Regions from separate parts of the Homo sapiens genome. Here all the other regions are linked to region 4. The links are contacts of gene promoters, found by promoter capture Hi-C in blood cells and fetal thymus (Javierre and others, 2016). All regions are on one chromosome and are shown on one strand. Each heading gives the region's core, a stretch centred on a gene start or on the middle of the fragment in contact. The rest is flanking DNA. Distances are from core to core; before and after follow the strand shown.

The links. Contacts are between HindIII fragments. The CHiCAGO score rates a contact against its expected background, and 5 or more counts as called.
Region 1: a contact is called between a fragment that was not itself captured here and the fragment with the promoter of FST in region 4, in 1 of 17 cell types (M2 macrophages). The highest score is 5.9, in M2 macrophages.
Region 2: a contact is called between a fragment that was not itself captured here and the fragment with the promoter of FST in region 4, in 2 of 17 cell types (megakaryocytes and M2 macrophages). The highest score is 6.1, in megakaryocytes.
Region 3: a fragment that was not itself captured here is called in contact with the fragment with the promoter of FST in region 4 in 6 of 17 cell types (megakaryocytes, M1 macrophages, M2 macrophages and 3 more); the score reaches 16.0 in megakaryocytes.

Annotation. Positions count from the first base shown.
Region 1 is chr5:54,049,978-54,055,214 of GRCh38, forward strand. All of the region lies in intron 4 of ARL15 (ARF like GTPase 15), which reads right to left. Among named protein-coding and RNA genes, the nearest start is that of MIR581, 100 kb to the left of the region's middle. The HindIII fragment of the contact is 4,822 bases long and covers 1,124-5,237 here.
Region 2 is chr5:54,072,938-54,078,060 of GRCh38, forward strand. All of the region lies in intron 4 of ARL15 (ARF like GTPase 15), which reads right to left. Among named protein-coding and RNA genes, the nearest start is that of MIR581, 120 kb to the left of the region's middle. The HindIII fragment of the contact is 865 bases long and covers 971-1,835 here.
Region 3 is chr5:53,995,368-54,000,488 of GRCh38, forward strand. All of the region lies in intron 4 of ARL15 (ARF like GTPase 15), which reads right to left. Among named protein-coding and RNA genes, the nearest start is that of MIR581, 46 kb to the left of the region's middle. The HindIII fragment of the contact is 2,369 bases long and covers 565-2,933 here.
Region 4 is chr5:53,479,108-53,484,336 of GRCh38, forward strand. It overlaps FST (follistatin), which reads left to right and starts at 1,522. Exons shown (of 6, transcript NM_013409.3): 1 at 1,522-1,769; 2 at 3,773-3,964; 3 at 4,397-4,615; 4 at 4,962-5,186. The coding sequence starts at 1,685. RefSeq lists an enhancer at 2,755-2,824. The HindIII fragment of the contact is 5,217 bases long and covers 1-2,527 here.

The DNA.
Region 1 (5,237 bases), core at 2,285-4,784, 570 kb after region 4:
ATTGGTGTGTTCAGATGGTACTGTACTAGCCTTCCTCTTCCCCTCCATCCTCCTAGCCATGTGCAGGGAATTTTCTCTTTTTGTTGGTTAACACTCTTCCTCATCTGGATTGCCTTCAACTATGTGACAACGAAGAATTCAAGCACCAAAATAGCAGCAGCTACATATCCTTTGCATGACAGTGTAATTTCTTCTGCCTTAAGGCTGTGTCTAGCACTGAAATCATAGTCTGTTTACTTCGATCTGGTGCTACATTACAATGGGAGGGATTTAACTCTTACTTATAAACACACAAGGGAATTATTTCTCAGCTCTGTTTAGATTAGAATTAGAGATGAAATTGTGCAGTTCTTGTTGCTGCTGAGCCAATCACCCCATTGAGCAAAAACTTACCTTCCTACTTTACTAGACAAGCAAGAATACTGTGCTGTCTTTTAAAATGTTCTGCAATATAACTATTAGAACCAATACAGAAAATTTTTGGTGGCTAGTGAGTATAGGCAATTAATCTTGAAAGTTTCCCACTTGACTTGAATGTTTGACTTTCTCTTCAGATGCTTTCTGCTGGGGAAGGAGCACTTCTGAATTAAAGAATTTTGCAAAAGAAAATGTGGCCAGGGATATTATGTGCGTGTGTCTAAAACTGGGGATTATCAGTACATGCTAAGTGAATATGAGGCTTTATAAACCAATATTTTAAAATTTCATGATCAGAAAAAGTAATCTTTAACACCATTCTCTTACCCGTGATCGCTTAGTAATCTTCGTGTCTATGAAATTCTACCTCTGAAATATCTCTTCAGCTGTTCCCTTCTCTCTATTCCCAATTTTATCTTTTAGATCCTATTGTCTCATCTGAATTTTTAGAAGAGCCTACTAATTTAATCTTCTGCTTCTGATCCTTTCCCTATGTTAACTTTCTAAATTATGAATATAATGTCACAATTTGGCTCAAATGTGATTTTAAACTATAAAGTAATTTAAACTGTAAGTCATATAACTAGTTTGATGATACCGTAAAGGTAGATATAAGATATTAATACTACTACTCAGAGACCCATGAATGTATCTCAGTGCCTGGCACAGAATAGGCACTTGATAAATATTTGCTTAATGATTAGTAAGCTTTCCATCGTTGGGCTTATGAGAAGCCAACATTTATTGAGCATCTCCTTTGTGGCACATGCGTCAAGTCTCCAGCACTTGCTTGATCTTTAGCTAACACTGTTGTTTTAATGATTTTCTCACAAAGAAACAGATAGGGTAGGTATTAGTCTCATTTTAAGTATGAAGAAACTGAGGTCTTAAGAGTATATAACTTTCTCAAAGTCGCAAGACTAATAAGTACCAAGGCTGGAGTTTGAAGTTAAGTCTGAATTCTTAATCGACCCTCACACTTACAACATGCAGCTGAAACTTTTTCTTCCTGTTCCTTTGCTTTAATAGTTTAACATACTATTTGATACATACAAAAGAATACATGTAACAAATATAAATTGCAGAGCCTAAAAATAAATAGTAAGTATCTTAGTTTTTAAAAGTGAGCAAAAGATAAATGACAAGTCACCAAACAGACAAGTAAGCAAGTAAATGATGCTCAACGTCATCTGACATTAGGGAATTACAAATTTAGACAAAGAATACCACTACACGTTTGCTAAAATAGCTAAAATTCAAAACAGTACCACCAACAACTGTTGGGTGCAAAGCAAATGGAATTCTCATTCATTGATGGTGAGAAAATGGTACAACCACATTGGAAGACAGTTTGGCAGTTTCTTACAAATACGACCCAACAATCACGCTACTAGGTATTTACTCAATTGATTTTAAAACTTACGTTCACACAAAGCCTATATGCAAATGTTTGTAGCAACCTTATGTATAGCTACAAAAAACTAGAAGCAATCAAGATGTCTTCCAATAGAAGAATCGACTACACAAACTGCAGTATAGCTATACAATGGAATATTATTCATTGATAAAAAGAATGAGCTATCAAACCACAAAAAAGATGAATTTTGAATGTATATTGCTAAGTAAAAGAAGCCAGTCTCAAAAAGCTATATAAGGTATGATTCCAATTATATGACATTCTAGAAAAAGCAAAAATATAGCAGTCAAGGTCTGTGGATGCCATGGGTTCAGAGTGGGAGAGACAAATATGTAAAACATAGGGGATTTTTTTTATGGAGGTGAAACTATTATGTATGGTACTCTAAAAGTAGATGTAAGACATTAAGTATTTGCCAAAACCCAAAGAACTTTATAGCACAACGAATAAATCTCAATGTATGCAAATTAAAAAAAATTAACTAGAAAGTCGGGGAAGCCTAGCATGAAATGCAATCTAAATATATTATAAATAATCTAAACATATTACATTGCATACAACAACTTCCCAGAAAAGTATTGGGGTATAAAGTGCAGAACTAAGTAACTCTTGAAGAAAGGGAAGTCTGTAAGACTAAAGGTAAAGGAAACTGTACGTAAGAATTGTCTCCCACAGGGGTATGGATTAATTTTGAAACCATTATATATGTATACTAAAATTAAACAATTGAGTAAATGGATGGTGGATAGCGTGAGCCAGATTTCTCACTGTTTTACTGAGAGATTACAGATAAGCAAGGGTAAAAACGCTAGAATGATCCTTATGGGAATGAATTAGAGCTGAAGACCTCAGTATGAACTCATATTTAGTTTAATATACAGAGGATTACATATAAAAATGTTTTTATATGTATATACATGGGCCAGCACACACACACACACATGCACACGTGCACACACAGAGTTCGCTCTATCAGCTGAGGTCTAGAAGCAATAATACCCCAGTGGCACACAGGGCACGCAGATCTTGGTTTCTGATTCCATTTTCCAATGACCAGGGCTTCTTCAACAAAAGGCTGATCCTGTCTGCGGCAAGAAATACCCAAGATGAGTGTGGAGCCTCTTACAGTGCCAGAGTTAGGAAGTGCCAAAAGAAAAAAAATCACCTAAAACCCCACAACGATGAGGCTATGTCAAAGGGACGTAGGAGCTAATTAAAAGAACATCCTATGCCAAAAATGGAACAATTTAAGCAACAAAATAACAGAGTATTGAATTATAATCCAAAGTATGAACCAGGCTTGATGGCACACACCTGTAATCCTAGCTACTTGGTAGGCTGAGGCAGAAGGATCCCTGGGGCCCGGGAGGATCCCTGGAGACTAGGAGCAATATGGCAAAACTGCATCTCCAAAAACAACAACAACAACAAACAACAACAAAACAAACAAAAAACAAAGTATAAAATAAATATCCATGAGTCTCTACTGACATAAGTAAATAATTGAATAAATCAACAAATAAATGGGGTAGAAGAGATAAACCTACTATGTAGAAAAATTCCAAATAATTCCAAATAATTTGTGTAGGTATTCTATCCAAAAGAAAGTAAAGCATAACTACTCTCTAAGTATGGCTCTCTAAGTATGACCTGTTTCCAAACAGTAGAGTATGAAAAAAGAAAAAAAATAAAAATAAAAAAGAGTGGCTCTAGAGTGGAAAAAGTGGAGAAACCTGACAAACACTACCTCAAGCAGGTGATAAAAGTTTATATCAACAGTGATAAGTCACATTGACAGTGTTTACCCTTGATATGATGTGATGTGGCACTGTACCTCTGGGATCTTCCTTCTAAGTGTAATCATGAGAAAAACATCAGACAAATTCCTATTGAGAGGCGCTCTATAAAATACCTGACCAGTACACCTCAAAACTGTCAAGGTCGTCAAAGACAAGGAAAGTCTAAGAAGCTGTCACAGCTAAGTGGGGCCTAAGGAGATGTGAAAACTAAGTGTAATGTGGTGTCCTGTATGGGATCCTGGAACAGAGAAAAGCATACATAAAAACTAAGGAAATCTGAATACCATATCAACTTTAGTTATAAGCAATGTATCAGTATTGGTTCATTAACTGTAATAAATGTCCCCCTACTCTTAACAGAGGAAAATGGGTATGGGATACACAAAACACTATGTACTATCTTTGTAATAATTCTGTATATCTAAAGTCATTCTAAAATAGAGTTTATTTAATAATAAATAACTAGCTATGAATGTACCACCCAATCAGAAACTAGAATATTATCTGTAACCTACAGCCATCCTCTGTGCTCCATCTCTCCCCTTACTTCCGGTACCTCGCCCCCACCTAAATAAATCACTATCCTGAATGTTGTATTTAATATCTTTCCTCGTTTTAGCACAGTCTTATTACACATGTATGCATATATACCTTTAAAGAGTTTGCTTATTTTTGAGCTTTATAAAAATGGCACTGTACTATCTTCTGAGACTTGCACCAGTGGATTATGTATAAGAAAATTTATTGTGGCACTCTTTCTGAAAGAAAAATCTGGAAACAAAGCAAATGTCCCAAATAAATAAACAGTGGTATAGCTTGCACAATGAAATATTACACAAAAGTGAAAAATATAAACTACATTCAACAATGTGGATGAGCTTTAGAGAAACAATACTAGAGCTGGGCGCTGTGGCTCATGCCTGTAATCCCAGCACTTTGGGAGGCCGAGGCGGGCGGACCACAAGGTCAGGAGATCAAGACCATCCTGGCTAACACGGTGAAACCCCGTCTCTACTAAAAACACAAAAAATTAGCCGGGCGTGGCAGCGTGCGCCTGTAGTCCCAGCTACTTGGGAAGCTGAGGCAGGAGGATGGCGTGAACCCAGAAGGCGGAGCTTGCAGTGAGCCAAGATCGCGCCACTGCACTCCAGCCTGGGTTACAGAGAGAGACTCCGTCTCAAAAAAATAAAAGAATACTAGATGAGAAAAGGTAAAGGTGTTAATCTGAAGCAGAAGGCCCTTTGTCAAATGGCCACAACCTACCTCATCTATCTCACTTCACCGAATCTATTTCCAGTCACACCAAACTTCTCCATGCGACCTAAACATTCCACACTCTTGGACACCCACTTAGCTTTTATTTTTTTAAAAAGGCATGTTGTGATACAATTCACATACCACACAATTTATGCACTTAAAGAACACAGTTCAGTGGCTTTTAGTACATACAGAGTTTTGCGACCATCACCGTAATCAATTTTAGAATATTTTTATCACACTACAAAGAAACATCATACTCATTGGCAGTCAAATCCCATTTCTTGCCAATCCCTACACTCTCCCTGGCCCTAGGCAACCACCAATTTACTTTTTGTGTCTATGGA
Region 2 (5,123 bases), core at 153-2,652, 590 kb after region 4:
ACATATGGCCCTCAGGGAATGTGGATTGTCAATGTCTTTTCTAGACACTCAACATGTCTGGTCACTCAGGTTTAAAGCCAAATTGGTTATGCATTACTTTTTGAGAAGTTGTTAAAACTTAAAATAAGTTATCAAGTCAGTGATATTTCAAAAGATTGTTGATAAAAAAGAACATATAACTGTAACCATACTGAACAGTTGATTATAGAACGACATGTCAGTGCACATATGGCAGTCGGATAAATTATGCACATCTGGATTACTTTTGGCAAGAAACATAGCTAAGTGTCTAAAGCCAAGTTTAGCAATCTGTCACTAACAATATGTACATTTATTTTAAAATGTCAAGGGCTCAAAGTCATATTTTCTATTTCTTCATAAACTTTCCAGCTCTTCGTAAGACAGCAAACAGGTGACAAAACACATTGCCCAAACTGCCAAAGGCTGTATAAATAAGGGGTAATTTTGAACTTCTCACCACATATATAAGAGGACTCAAAGTCTGAAACAAACTCATGTGTTGTGGGATGTACTGACATATAGGTTTCAAGTGAGATTGTTACCATTTCACTTCAGAAGTTGGTTAGAAAATGCTTTCATTTAAAGATATGGCTGGCTTACATGGAGTAGTAAACAATATAACACTCTGGGGAAAGCAAATGGAAATAGTCTAGTGGTGTCTCCTTATAAAAGGAAAAGACCAGTGTCTCTGTGATCAGCTCAGATTAAGTTTCCTTTTTTCCATTGCCAATTACTGACATCATTTAAGCCCCAAAGAAATGTTTTCCTACTTCTAGTCCCCTTGATTAAAAGAAAAGCCAAGAGACACGAAGGTGGCTCTCAAACTAGCAGTAACAAGAAACTTTACAATGGGATGTATGGGCAGCAGCCAGGTGGGAATGTAGCAGTACCTGTAAGCACAAAACTCCTCTTGACTATTATGCTGCTTCCTAGTTTTTCTAGCATTCCAAGCTTCTTAACAGCTTCAGTGGGAATGCCAAGATATGTCATGGAGACTGGGTGGGGTCCCGTCATTCCAGGTGTTGCCTTCCAGTCTCATTTGTGCTGGCAGCAGAGAAAAACCAGAGTGGAACTATTTTATTTACAGAGTGATAGCTGAATATTCACTCTGTGTCAGTCTTTCTTCTAGCTCACCCATTTGGTAATTTTACTGTTGACTAGCATCTTTACTATATACCAGATCTGGATTATAACATGTTCAAATGGTGTGGGTGGTGGGAAATCCTGTGTCTCTAAATCATACAGATTGGTATTCAAACACCAGGTCCACTGCTTACAAACTGAGCCTCATCTAAAGAAGGAGGATGATTATGAAGCACCTACTTCACAGTGTGGCTGTGAGAACTAAATGCCTAAAACCTACAATACATCCAAAAATAGTGGCTATAATCATTTCTGTTCCTTTTCTCCTTCTTAAAGTGACAGACTGGGACTAATAAAGTCCACAAACCACAGATTGTCAATAAAATGTTGTAAATCCAAGAGTAAGCTAATAAACAACTGAGAAGAAGGAAGAAGAATAAAGAAGATAAGATCCTAAGAGGAAAAGATATTTAACTTTTAATTTTTATCTGCTTTTCTGCTTTTGTAAAGTTTGATGCATAAAGCTATTGAAATCTATGTGAGCTTAAGTGTCTTTCCCTGATGAAATAAATAAAAGACAATTGCCTGTGTTATTAAGAAAAGGCACATGTTTTCAGAACTGTCAGTTTCTATTATTCAAGTCAGAGAGATTTTACTTTAATAGTATTAGAGGCAGAGTGAAAAATACATCTATTTCCTTCTTAATTTTGATATTTTCTATTTGACTCTGAAGCTTAATTTTTAAGTTATATCACATTAAAAATGCTCAAATAAAAGACACATATAAGAAGGTAAAAGAGTAAAAAGAATTTTAAATTAAATGAGTCCATTTGCCCATATTTCACTTCCCCAGGTCTCAGTGGTAGCAATCTTCACACACTATTAATGTTCTTTAGTCTTTTACTCCTTACACTCCTGAGGAATTTTATATCCCCACAAGACACAAAAACTCTAGAAATATAAATTAAGAGAAACACTCACAGAAAAACCCAAAGCAGATCTGACAGAATGATTCTTAGTACAGAATACAGGAAAAAAAAAAAAAAAAAAAGTCCTGGCCTATCATTATACTGTATTACTTTAAATAAGTTAAAGTCTCCTGGCCCAAAGAAGCTATTATAAGATAATTTATAATTTAGATGGTTAAATGAATGTTCATGATCTTTGCCAAGTTCAGGACAATAAATATAGGGGGTTCTTCCAACCCTAGGAATCTGTTATTGTCACTAGACAAACAAGGTAGGCTTGAGAAAACTGATATACTTTCCCCAGGTAGACGTGAAGCTTCTTCATATTGAATTACAGAAGTAAAGTTTTAGTGAATACTACTTTACATAATTTTTCTATCACGGTCATTTAAGATTTTATTCACAAGGCAGCCAAAGGCGAAAAGCAAAAACAGAAGCTAGAACAAAACAGTCTTTGGGTTAATAATATATATTCCTTTTTTTTTTTGAGATAAGGTCTCACTTTGTTCCCCAGGCTGGAGTCAGTGCCACGATCTTGGCTCACTGCAACCTCCACCTCCTCCGCCTCCTGGGTTCAAGTGATTCTCATGCCTCAGCCTTCTGAGTAGCTGGGACCACAGGTGTGCACCACCACACCTGGCTAATTTTTGTATTTTTAGTAGAGATGGGGTTTTGGCATGTTGGCCAGGCTGGTCTCGAACTCCTGGCCTCAGGTAATCTGCCCACCTTGGCTTCCCAAAGTGCTGGGATTACAGGTGTGGGCCACTGCACCCAGTCATATAGTTCATGTGGAGTTTTAAAATTGTAGTAATTTAATCTTGTATTTAAGTTATACCCTTAATAAGTACCATATTAAATGTGGTAAAATGAAGAGTACGGACTAGGTAAGAGGATAAGATCTAGAATTAGAAAGACCTGGATTTATACACTGACTCTGCAGTTTGTCTTTTAACCCATTATACTACCTTATATCTATTCATAATAAATTATGTATCTGAATAAGTGTGTGTGCATGTGTAAATAATACATACACACGCACCACAGAGTTGGTACAACGATTAAATGAGTACCCAGCACAATGCTTGGCAGACACTCAATAGCAAACTAAGAAATCAGGATAATATAGGCCAGGCGCGGTGGCTCACGGCTGTAATCCCAGCGCTTTGGGAGGCCAAGGCGGGTGGATCACGAGGTCAGGAGATCGAGACCATCCTGGCTAATACAGTGAAACCCCATCTCTACTAAAAACATGAAAAAAAAAATTAGCTGTGCATGGTGGCAGGCGCCTGTAGTTCCAGGTATTCGGGAGGCTGAGGCAGGAGAATGGCGTGAACCCAGGAGGCGGAGCTTGCAGTGAGCTGAGATCGCGCCACTGCACTCCAGCCTGGGCGACAGAGCGAGACTCCGTCTCAAGAAAAAAAAAAAGAAAAAGAAAAAAAAAGAGAAATCAGGATAGTATAGCAGTAATTTGATGAAAAATTATGGATTCATATCATAATATACGTCAATATTAAATCCTTTCTGATAAACTATTTGAAATAGTGACAAAGAACATATACAAACTCTTTGAGAAAGTATTCTTCACTGCAGAATTAAATCACAAGTAAGAATCCTGTAAAAAAATCACCTTCTCAAGGCCAAAACTTACATTTTTAGCTGACATCTCGTTACAATGGTACTACGTTCTAATAGATTGTGGAGGTATATAATTACAACACTTAAAAGATGAAACTAAATGAAAAATAAAATTCATAGTGTTAATAGAGTCCAATGTAGGAGTGCTTTTTTTTTTAATCCCCCAAACTATGTAGAAAACATCCATGGAGGAAGACATCAGCGTTAATTCCTAAAAAGGCTCCTGTGCTCATCAAGAGGCCTCCAACCACTGGACCACTGCAGTTGCCACATAATCTGTCTGAAGCAAATTCTTCCTCTTAGCAGTTGCTGAAGGAGTGGTGACTTCTTATTAGCTTCCCTTATGAGAACATCTTCTATGCTACGCAGGATGTTTCAAGTAACCCCAAAGATGTTTAGTTGTGCTTCATCATCATAAATGAAGACTTAACAGGGAGAAATTAAGAGTACCGTTAAATTTTTCTTATGCCTGTTAACATATTGTCATTCATTTACTCAAGTTCTTCAAACTCTGACCTCCTTTTGGCTGGAATGCAACAGGATGAAGGATGATATCTTCTCAAACTGTGATGTTTATTTAAGGATATCTACTACTCAAAGAAAGAAAATGAATGTGGTAGGAATATCATGAAAATAACACGGAAAACATGGCTCCAGAGAAGCAACGTAAAAAGTGTCTTACCAGGCCCAAGTAGAAAATCACCCTCTTTAGACAGTTCATTAAACTTTTCAGAGATTAATCACTAGAGAGATTATAGCAGTGGCTATGAAATTTATGGAAGCATTCCCCCAGAAAAATGAACGCAGACACTGAGCCATAAATGTAAAGAACTCAAAAGGAAGCAATCTACCTTCCAAACAAGTGTTGAAAAGGTCTGAAGGAATTTGGTTGTCTATGTCAGCCATTATACGGGGAAACATGATGCTCACTGTTCTAAGGGGAAAAATGTTCAAACATGTATACTAAATGTTGCCCTGGGGTTCTCATTACTTAATTAACATGCACACATAAAATCTGGAGTGTGTACAACAACAGCTAGCCTTAATAATAGGTAAGTCGCGTCAGTCTCTTTTTCTAATATTCTATTTTAAGTTGTGAACCTTAATCCAGGTAAGCTGTCTGTCATTTGGCAAAGATGTGAGGTTTTCTCAGGAAAGGGTAGGTATGTAAGGCAGCTCTAACATGACCTGATTTTTAACTACCTTTCAAGGGATATTTTACAATGTTTTTGTGAACACTCTGGTGGATTCTGGGACCTTAAGACGCCATTCCTTTGGAAATATGTAATTAATAAAGCGTTATGGGAAAGATGTGTGATGACAATGTCTTTCTTGAGTTATGCTAATTTGATTACAATAAATTTAAGTAAATTCTAAAGTAATTATTTCTTTCAAATAACAGCATTTCCAGTATTT
Region 3 (5,121 bases), core at 499-2,998, 520 kb after region 4:
CATTTAATTCAAATAATATTTTATAAACATTTGTCTACATTAGGGGTGTGCAATAAATGATTTTAAAAATGACTATACTGCTTATGTATAAAACAGAAATATGTTTTAAATATTTGATGCCTCACTACTCATAATTCTCAGTATTTTGGCAGACACTTATTGAGTGTCCAATGTCAGAAAACAGTTACACTACTAAGGTCCAAATAAGCAAAATAGCTATAGATTACTCATCTTCAAGAGTAGTTTATCATAGTTTATCAGTAAGAAAATTTGGCAAAGGAAGAGTACATTTTCATTAAAATGCTCAGTGTTTCAATGAGGATGCTCCTGGCATTTAAGATATGATAATTCTCCCTTTTCGGGGGTTGGCCTTGTCCTGGCATTCCTGGCCCCTGCCCACAAAATGCTAGCAGTGACCCCAGTTATAGTGATAATCAGAATATTCCCATACGTTCCCCAAAGTCCCCTAGGCAAAAAAGTACTTTCTCCAGTTGGAAACCACTGACCCAAAGAGTCTCTAGCTTAAAACAGAAACAAAAACAGAATAAGGGTGAAATGTGCTAAAGCTTCATTATGTGGTTTTAAAAAGCAGGGGTGGTTGAGTGTTCCTTAATAACTGTATATAACTTTACTTCCTTGTCTTTCAGTTTATTTGTAAAAGGTTTGTCTCCTGGGGGTTCATACATTATCAATAATTCTCATTGGCTTCTTCAGAGGAGGATGTTCAGGCAGATGTTCAGGAGAATGTTCAGCTAGATGGGTGAGCAAAAAACCCAGTTTTCTTAAACTTTTAGTTAAACTCAGCTCTGCCGCCTAGCTGGGGACAATGGCAAGGGAAATCAGATTGCAGACTAGTGTCTCCTGGGACTAATCTGACATTTATGAGGGGAGCCTCTGGTTGACGAAATGCGAGTACCAGAACAGAGCTGATGCATGTGTGATCATACTCAACATTAGAACACCCCTTCAGGCTGGGTGCAGTGGCTCACACCTGTAATCCCAACACTTTGGGAGACTGAGGCGGGTAGATCATCTGAGGTCTGGAGTTCAAGACCAGCTTTGCCAGCATGGCAAAACTCCGTCTCCACTAAAAATACAAAAATTAGCTGGGCACGGTGGTGCACATCTGTAATCCCAGCTACTTGGGAGGCTGAAGCACGAGAATTGCTTGAACCCGGGAGGCGGAGGTTGCAGTGCGCTGAGATCGCACCACTGCACTCCAGCCTGGGTGACAGAGTGAGACTGTCTCATAAAAAAAAAAAAAAAAAAAAAAAGAGAACACCCCTTCAGCTTGTGACAAGCAGCTAACATCTAGGTCTATATGACAAATGTTTTTCTTTTGCTACCTAAAAATAGGTTTCTGAGGCTGGTTAGGTGAAAGTCCCCTAGGTAGGAATGGTATTGTCTCTAGTTAGAGACTACTGATCCAAAGAGACCCTAGATAAAAAGAGAATAATGGTAGGCTAACACCTTACACCTGTACCTTACGCCTGAAGGCAGAAGGGAGCAGGAGCACTGGGATGGACACAGGCTCAACATATCTAAAATTATAATCTTCCTATTTTTACAGATGGGAAGAAAGAGTTCAGAGATGTGGGATGACTTGCAGACATTCTGTGCAGTTTAATAAACCTTCCTTCTCCTGTATCGTACAGCAAGATCTCTTTCCAACATTACTACCTCAATAGGGTGAAGAATACATTTCTCATCTACCATTTGACAAATTTATGCTGAAATGCAATTCGTTTGCTGAACCTTGGAAAACAACTCAACAAAGTTCTGTCCTTTACATTATAAATCCAGTTCACAAAAACCTTTCAAACTTTTTTCTCCAAATAATCTGTCTTCTTCTTTATGTCCTGAGCTCAGAAGAGTTCCCTAATCTGAGCTCCTCAACTCTGGGCTCGTCGTTCTTCATTTCTTGATATGTGCCCACTGCTAAGAGTTGTCTTTGTTTATCACTCTAGCCACAGCATTCAAAATCTCCAAGCAGTAGACAGTCTCTCTGCTGCCCTATCAATCTCTTTTCCTGACTATTTCTTAAAAACCAAATTAAGGGTACCTTTTATTTCCTGATGAATAGCAGGCCTTCCCACACCACTTCTTGTTTCACTCTCCCTAAATCCTCATCACCTGATAATTTTCAATAATGATCCAAATGGCAACAGACTACATCATCTCAGCACCATAGCATGAGAGAATGAAAGGGACCTTGGAGGTCATTTGATTAACTGGATAAAAAGTGTTCTCTAAGAAACTTTTCAGATTCTTCAGTGGGCATCCAGGAGCAGGATGAAGGAGGTGAATGGGGAAGGGGGCAGCAAGCAGAATTTATGGTCCTCACCTCCAATTTAGCCAGAACAATTCCACTTTAATCTGTTTCTCTAATTATGCTAAGTACAATTTTATTTTAAAAAGAAAATAAAAAGAGGGACGCTTTGGAAATCTCCACTTAAAAAAAAGAAATGTAAAACCACTAATCTATTTCCCACCATGCTGAGTCCTTTAAAAAGAGCCTGATGTAAACTTTGCAAAAATTTGTGATTAGCAAAGGGTCTTTAAAATGCCTAGTCTCTTAGTAATCATAATCCCTCACCTTAAACACTGGCCTGCACCACCAAGAAAAGAGAAAATGTGATTTACTGATGGATGTGCTGGGAGAGGAAGAAAGAGACTCATGTTTGACTGCTGATTTTCCCATTAGCTAGCTGCTAAGCCACTTAACCTCCTCATGCCTCAGTTTCCTTGCCTGCAGAATGAGAGCTGGGCTCTACTCAGGCATTTTCTAGCTCCAAAATTCTGGGTTCTATGAACCAGATTTTTGTGAGGGGGACTGAGCCCTATTTCTCTCGCTTTTCCCATCTCTTGAATAATGTATCGTTCTTTTCCAAAGGAGAAGTGTCCAGGGACATCAGGAAAAAAAAAAAAAAAAAAGCTTTTATCCAATCTAACACCAGGACTAATGGAATGTTTACAGACAGACTGGCTGGCCTCAGCCCTTTAGTTTCTCCCCTTTTATCTTTCTAATCCTCCTTTCAATGTGTCACCCCTCACATCTCTTTCCTTCCTTCTTAGCTCCGCTCAAATTTAGCATACCTTTAAGTGGCTACTGTATACAAGGCACTGCGGTTCAGCACTTGGGTTATATAAAGATGAATAAGGCACAGCCCTGCACAGAAAGGGACTTCTGTAAGGAGGACAACTCTGGCAGAAACATAAAGGGAAGGTTAGAGATGCAAAAGAATAAAAGTGGAATATTTACATAAGAGATGAGGGCATGAAAAGTCTTTGAGAACTAACTGGGAGGTGGGAGAGAAGCCGTTCAATATTAATTCAGTGAATCAATCAGCTTGTTACTTACTGAGCTGTGTTCCAGGCACTGTACTACATGCAGCAGTTACAAAATGAAAAGGCCTGGTCCCTGCTTATGGTCTAAAAAGGAGAGACAGACATGGGAATTGGGTTTGGTGCCAATGAGAACCAGGGCAACACCAACCAAAAGAGGGATGTCCCAAATAGCAGACATGAGTGGGAGGAGACAGAATAAGTAAACTCCCACTGGAATAAGGAATTTATTTAACATGACGATGCTGAAGGGATGTGGGGGCTAATGGGGCATTGGTGCATTCACATTAAGCACACTCAGAGTAACATTTGGATCTGGAGTCAGAAGACAGAGACATCAACACTGAGATGCTGTCAAGAGTGGGGCCAGGAAGTGGAAGAAATCTCCTAGGTAGAAAGAACAGAGAATAAAGAGAAGGCTGTAGGACCAACATTCGGTAAGTGTCTATACTCAAGGAATAGAGAGGAAAAGAAAACTGAGTGAAGAAGACAGTGAAAGGAAATGTAGGAAAACAAGTAGGCATGTGCAATGCTAAAATAAGCTCAGGAAGAAGGGAACTTCAAACAAAAAGAAATGTTCAAAAATAAGTGGAAGGCCGGGCGTGGTGGCTCATGCCTGTAATCCCAGCACTTTGGGAGGCCGAGGCAGGTGGATCACCTGAGGTCGGCAGTTCAAGACCAGCCTGGCCAACATGGTGAAATCCCGTTCCTGCTAAAAATACAAAAAATTAGCCAGGTATGGTGGTGCGGGCCTGTAATCCCAGCCACTTGGGAGGCTGAGGCACGGAGAATCACTTGAACCCGGGAGGTGGAGGGTGCAGTGAGCCAAGATCGTGCCACTGCACTCCAACTTGTGCAACAAGAGTGAAACTTCATTTCAAAAAAATAAAAATAAAAATAAATAAATAAATACATAAAGGCTGGGTGCGGTGGCTCACACCTGTAATCCCAGCACTTTGGGAGGCCAAGGTGGGCGGATCACCTGAAGTTGGGAGTTCGAGACCAGCCCGACCAACATGGAGAAAACCCCATCTCTACATGGGCGTGGTGGCACATGCCTGTAATCTCAGCTACTCAGGAGGCTGAGGCAGGAGAATCTCCTGAACCGGGAGGTGGAGGTTGCAGTGAGCCAAGATCACGCCATTGCACTCCAGCCTGGGCAATAAAAGTGAAACTCTGTCTCAAAAATAAAATAAAATAAAAATAAAAATAAGGAAAAAAATAAGGGAAAAAAAGGAAGCAGAGAAGGGTGGGGTATAGTAGACAGAAAAAATGTCATAAAATTTAGCAGCTAGTTAATAAAAGGCTTTTGAGACAGCAGTTTCACTCATATCTATATTGAGTCCATGAGGGTCTTCCTTAGAAAAAATTAGCAAAAAAGAAAAGCTACACTGCAGACTGATGTATTATGGATTCAAAGAACACTCTTTTCTTTTCCTCTAGTTTTTTTAAGTTTGGAGGAGGCTCCAGCAAGGCTTTTAGGCCAAGGAAAAGAAATGAATCTGCTACAGATTCTCTCCCCTGACTATTGTCCAACAAAAAACAAAAACACCAACTCTATGTTAGAAGTTTTCAATCTTTTGAAAACCTTTCTTCTGGTCACTAGCTGCATGTGAGGGTGGTAATCTACATAAATAAATGGACATCACGTCTGCCTGCAATAACGCCTGGATAGACTCTCACCACAACTAGGGTACATCTGGAATAATCAGTGAAATTATACTGAGTGAGGCAAACAGCTACCCTTCAGAAGGGTTGAAACTGAGGAAAAAGGAG
Region 4 (5,229 bases), core at 272-2,771:
TGCAGTTGGTGGAAAAAAATCTGTTATCACTGAGTTATTTGCAGTTGTGGAGGGGGGAAGGTTGACGGAAGATGGGGGGTGGGAGGGCTAGAGGAGGACTGGGGGAGGGTCTGGCGGGGGGAGGGCAGTTGCAGGGGGGGAAGAAGGGCAGATTTGAAATTCGTAGAACAAATCCCAGTGACCTGCGAATGTCCAAGAATTTTGTCTGCATACTTCGCTATCTGTTGTCCTTCGGGCTTCAGATGCGAAAAGAACAAATTTAAAAGGCAGCTTTGGAATAAACAATATAGCATTTTCCGTGAAGTAATCGTTTTATATAAAAGGAAATATCGCCTCCTCAGTTTCATTCAGCGGTGCCAAAAATGTTATAAATGAGAGACCCGCCAACTTTCAGCGAAGAATGCCAGGCACTGTACTTAATAAACTGAGGCTACAGAAGTTCATTATGGATGTTGCAATCTTTTTTATTCCGCGAAAAGAGAGAAGACGAGACAGAAAGAGAGAGAGATTGGAGCCGAGGAGACTGAGAGACAGACAGAGGCACACAGGACAGAAACTGGGGAGTCTCCAGGCGGGAGAGGAAGGGGGGGCCAGACCGCCTACGTCGGCGCCCCCGCTCCGGGCTCCGACTCCAGACGCCGCGAAGTGAAAGGGGAGAAAAGAAAGGGAGAGGGCGAGGCTGTGCCGCGGGGAGACCGGGCCTGAGGTGTTAAACATTTTTGTTTGCTTCCGACTAGTCCAGACGAAGGGCCGCGTCTCGGTAGCGCTCTGCCAGGGTGGAAGGTGCCGGGGCCGGGGTTCCTAGCAACACCTCTGGGCTGGGGGTGGCTGCAAAGTCAGGCACTCACAGACCCAGACACAAAACCTCGCGGGTCCCGCGCCCAGGCTGCGGGTGCCCGGAACCGCCGCGAGGCCGGCGCGCTCCGACCCGACCCGGGGCGGGATATTTGGGCAGCCCGGGGCTCTTCGGCCGTTTGCAAAAGTCTCTTTGGAGCGGAGGAGAGGCAGCACGGAGACAAACTCCCGGGTTCCCCCCGCCACCGCCTCCAGCGCCCCCACCGCGCCCTCCCTCTCACACTCGCGCGCGCGCGCACACACACTCACACACACACTCACACACACACCCGCCACCCCGGGCGCGCCGGCGCTGCCGGCGAGCGGCGGCGAGCAGGACTTGAAGTGGGTGTTCTTCCCCACTCCCCACCCCCGACGCGTAGCCCCCAACCCCCGCCCCGGTCGCCTTCCCCCTCCCTCTCGCTCCTACGCAAATAAGAACTCGACGATTCCCTTCCAGCCGTTTTGATTTCGGGCACCTCCGAAAGATAATTGGGAAGGGTTTCCAGAAGGTGGGAAATGTCACCTGATTCACACTGAACTTTTGAAAGCTCCCCACCCCCAAGGAGCCGCGCACACCCTCGCTCGCGGCCGCCCTCCCACAGCCCCACACACTGGGAGACCGCCCACCGCAAACCGCGGAGACCCCCGTCTAGATTTAAAGCGCGGCTGCGCCCGGCTTCTGACGTCCATTGAATCGCGCGGGCGGCCGGCGGCGAGCGCGGGGCTGCGCCGGGATCGCTGCGCCCTCCGCCGCTGGCCTCTGCGACGCGCGCCGCTCGCCCGAGCCACCCGCCGCCGCGCCGGCTCCCCGCGCCGCTGCGCTCCTCGCCCCGCGCCTGCCCCCAGGATGGTCCGCGCGAGGCACCAGCCGGGTGGGCTTTGCCTCCTGCTGCTGCTGCTCTGCCAGTTCATGGAGGACCGCAGTGCCCAGGGTAAGCGAGTGGGGATGCGCTGGGGAGGCTTGGCTGAGGACAGGGGGGTCGACTTTTCTGTGGTCTCCACTTGGTCTGTTCTGAGCAACGCTGCTCTCGGAAGATGTTGAACCAACTTGGGGACTCCGGGATGGAGAGGAGTGGGAAAATTGTAGGCAATGACACTTTAGGACTGGGAACTGAGTTTGGAGCTCGGTTATCTTGAAAAAGGAAAGGGAGCGAGCTGGGGTCTTAGTAGTTAGGGTTAAATGCTCCAAGTTCTGGCCATGATAACTTTAGATGTGATCTCCTCTGTTTGGCTCTGAAGAAGGGAACAAGTATCAGTAGTAGCCTGGAGATTTCAGTCGACCCATTTGCAGTCTCATCTCTCTCCCTCCCACATCTTTTGGATACTTAAAAAAAAAAAAGGAAAGAAAGAAAAGAAAACCTGGGGGTTTGGGGGAGAGATACTGAATTTTATTTGGTGGCTGGGGGACGTGGTTTCAGAAACTTTGCCCAAACTTGGAAATGTGGGTGCTGAAGATTTTCAAGGGAAGTAGCTTTCTGCCTAGTGGATGCTTCTTCCAACCCCATCCCCCATTCTCGCAAAAAAAAAAAAAAAAAAAAAAAAGCCAAATTATTACCCCAAAGTGCTTTGAGCACTTTACAGTTTTTTTCCCCTCTGCCTCATTCTTCTTTCTGACCCTTAGCTTTCTGTAAAACAGTGAGCAGCCCATAACTGACTTAAATTCTGAAATGGGTTAAGAGCAAATTTCTGAAGCTTGCCTTTTAAAAATAGATTTGTTTATTTCAATTAGTCTTTGGGCAGAATGTTTAAAATAATAATAGCAGCTTGCGATCCAATGATTGTTAAAGTCATATTGGTGATTCATGAGAAGTCTTCTCGACCCAAATCCGAACATTAAAAAGGGGGAAGAGGGAGAAATCACTTGCAAATATTTCTTGCTAGGTATGAGATAGGTACTTATAACCGTGAAATGGTAGGAAGACTCCCCCCTCCCCCCACCTTAAGGCATTACTTTCCCTGCTTCAGCGTTAACATTTTAAGTATGTTGTAAACTGCCCTCCTGGGCACTGCCCCTCGCCGTCTGCATGGCACTGCGCTGGGTTGCCCGCCTTTAGAGGAGAGGCTCTGCCTGGTGCCCGGACGTGGGCGCGGAGGAAAGCAGCCCTCGGAGATTTCGAAAGATCGCGGTGGCCGCGGGCGTGCTCCGGTCTGGCGGATTGCAAAACGGGCCCGTCGGGCTGGCTGCGCCTGGAGGCCGCGCGGGGTAGCTCCGGGCTGGGCCGGGTTGCTTTTTTGCTTTCATTTTTCAGAAGTGCCTTTTGCTTGATCTGTTTCTCTCTCTCTCTCTTTCTTTTCTTTCTTCCTCTCTCTCTTTCTTTCTTCCTTTTTTTCTTTCTTTCTCTTTCTTTTCTTTCTTTCTCTTCTTTCTTTTCTTTCTTTCTTTCTCTTTCCTTCTCCCTCTCTCTCCCCTCCATCTCTCCTCTCTCCTCTCTCTCGTTCTCTTACTTTCTTAACCCCTGTCACAAATAATTCCTGTACCCGCCTACATGAAACCAGCATGTAAAAACATCCGTCGCATCCTGTTTTTGTCAGGTTCTTTAATCTGCTCTTCGAGTCTCTGCAGGTTATGAAATGGGACGAATAAAAGTAAACAGTCTAGTAAAAGTCAATGCAAGCTGCACGTGTTGTGTCTGGGTCACTGGTAACTGACATTGATATGGCTGGGGCGCCCTGTCTTCTCCCTCTCTCCCTCCCTCCCTCTCGCCCACCTCCCATCTCTGTGATCAGGGCTTCCCCCTCCACTGCCTTCTTTTTCCACCCCTCCACCCCTTTCGATTTATTTCCTACTTTTCTCCCGCGTCTCTCTCACTTCCCCTCCTCCACGCTCACCCCCTCCCCATCCCCGCCGGGTCTCCTTCGCTAGCCACCTCGCTCTCCCTGCCCTGCCACCGCTCACTGCTCACTCACCCACCTCCCCACCCTTGTCTCTTCACAGCTGGGAACTGCTGGCTCCGTCAAGCGAAGAACGGCCGCTGCCAGGTCCTGTACAAGACCGAACTGAGCAAGGAGGAGTGCTGCAGCACCGGCCGGCTGAGCACCTCGTGGACCGAGGAGGACGTGAATGACAACACACTCTTCAAGTGGATGATTTTCAACGGGGGCGCCCCCAACTGCATCCCCTGTAAAGGTAGGACTCCTTCTTCCCAACTTGCAGGCCCTCAGTAGAGGGCGTCTTACCCTTAGCTTCCCCACTACCTGACTGGGGTTTGGGAGTAGGAGAGCTTTGTTCCTGGGCTTCCCCTTCCTGTCCCTTGCCCTGGTAAGCCGTGCAGACTCTAATTCTGCCTGTTACAGGCTGTAGGGAATACACGCCAGACTTCTTAGCCAAGTGTGGTGGTGAAACCCACCAACCTGTGCTCCTTAATGAGAGAGATCTGGGTGTGGGGCACAGCCCAAGGTCCACACTCTTTCACCAACTCCCAATATTCCAGGAGAGAGCCTGGGGCCCCTCCAGCGCAAACTCAGGGCTGCATGATTGCGCAAGGCACCCGAAGCCCTCCTGGCTGACCTGCAGACTGCCTGGCTCTGGTTTTAATCCATGCCTGTTTCTAACTCACAGAAACGTGTGAGAACGTGGACTGTGGACCTGGGAAAAAATGCCGAATGAACAAGAAGAACAAACCCCGCTGCGTCTGCGCCCCGGATTGTTCCAACATCACCTGGAAGGGTCCAGTCTGCGGGCTGGATGGGAAAACCTACCGCAATGAATGTGCACTCCTAAAGGCAAGATGTAAAGAGCAGCCAGAACTGGAAGTCCAGTACCAAGGCAGATGTAAAAGTAGGTCCTACCCTGTTGAGCAAGACTGGATCTGTCCCCTCCTCCAGCTTTGTACCTAAAGTAGACCCTCTAGAAGACCCTTGGGGGATGGTGTAGTCCGCAGTAAGAGCCTGATAATAGTAATACTGAAACCAAATAAAGGAGTCCTTTTCTAACCTCTAGAGATTCATTAAGAACACTGAGGGGACCAACCTAGTCATAGATTCTCTCTTGAAAACTACAGGGCTCCCTAAGTGCCTTTTGAAAGCTGGATGCTTCAGTGTCATGATTTCCTTGGTAACTTCAAGTGCTCACTCCCTAAGGACTAGAAGGTACCTATTCATGTGTGTTTCCTTCTTTGTTCCAGAGACTTGTCGGGATGTTTTCTGTCCAGGCAGCTCCACATGTGTGGTGGACCAGACCAATAATGCCTACTGTGTGACCTGTAATCGGATTTGCCCAGAGCCTGCTTCCTCTGAGCAATATCTCTGTGGGAATGATGGAGTCACCTACTCCAGTGCCTGCCACCTGAGAAAGGCTACCTGCCTGCTGGGCAGATCTATTGGATTAGCCTATGAGGGAAAGTGTATCAGTAGGTATTCTGGATTGAGGAAGGAAAAAGAGAAAACAGGCTA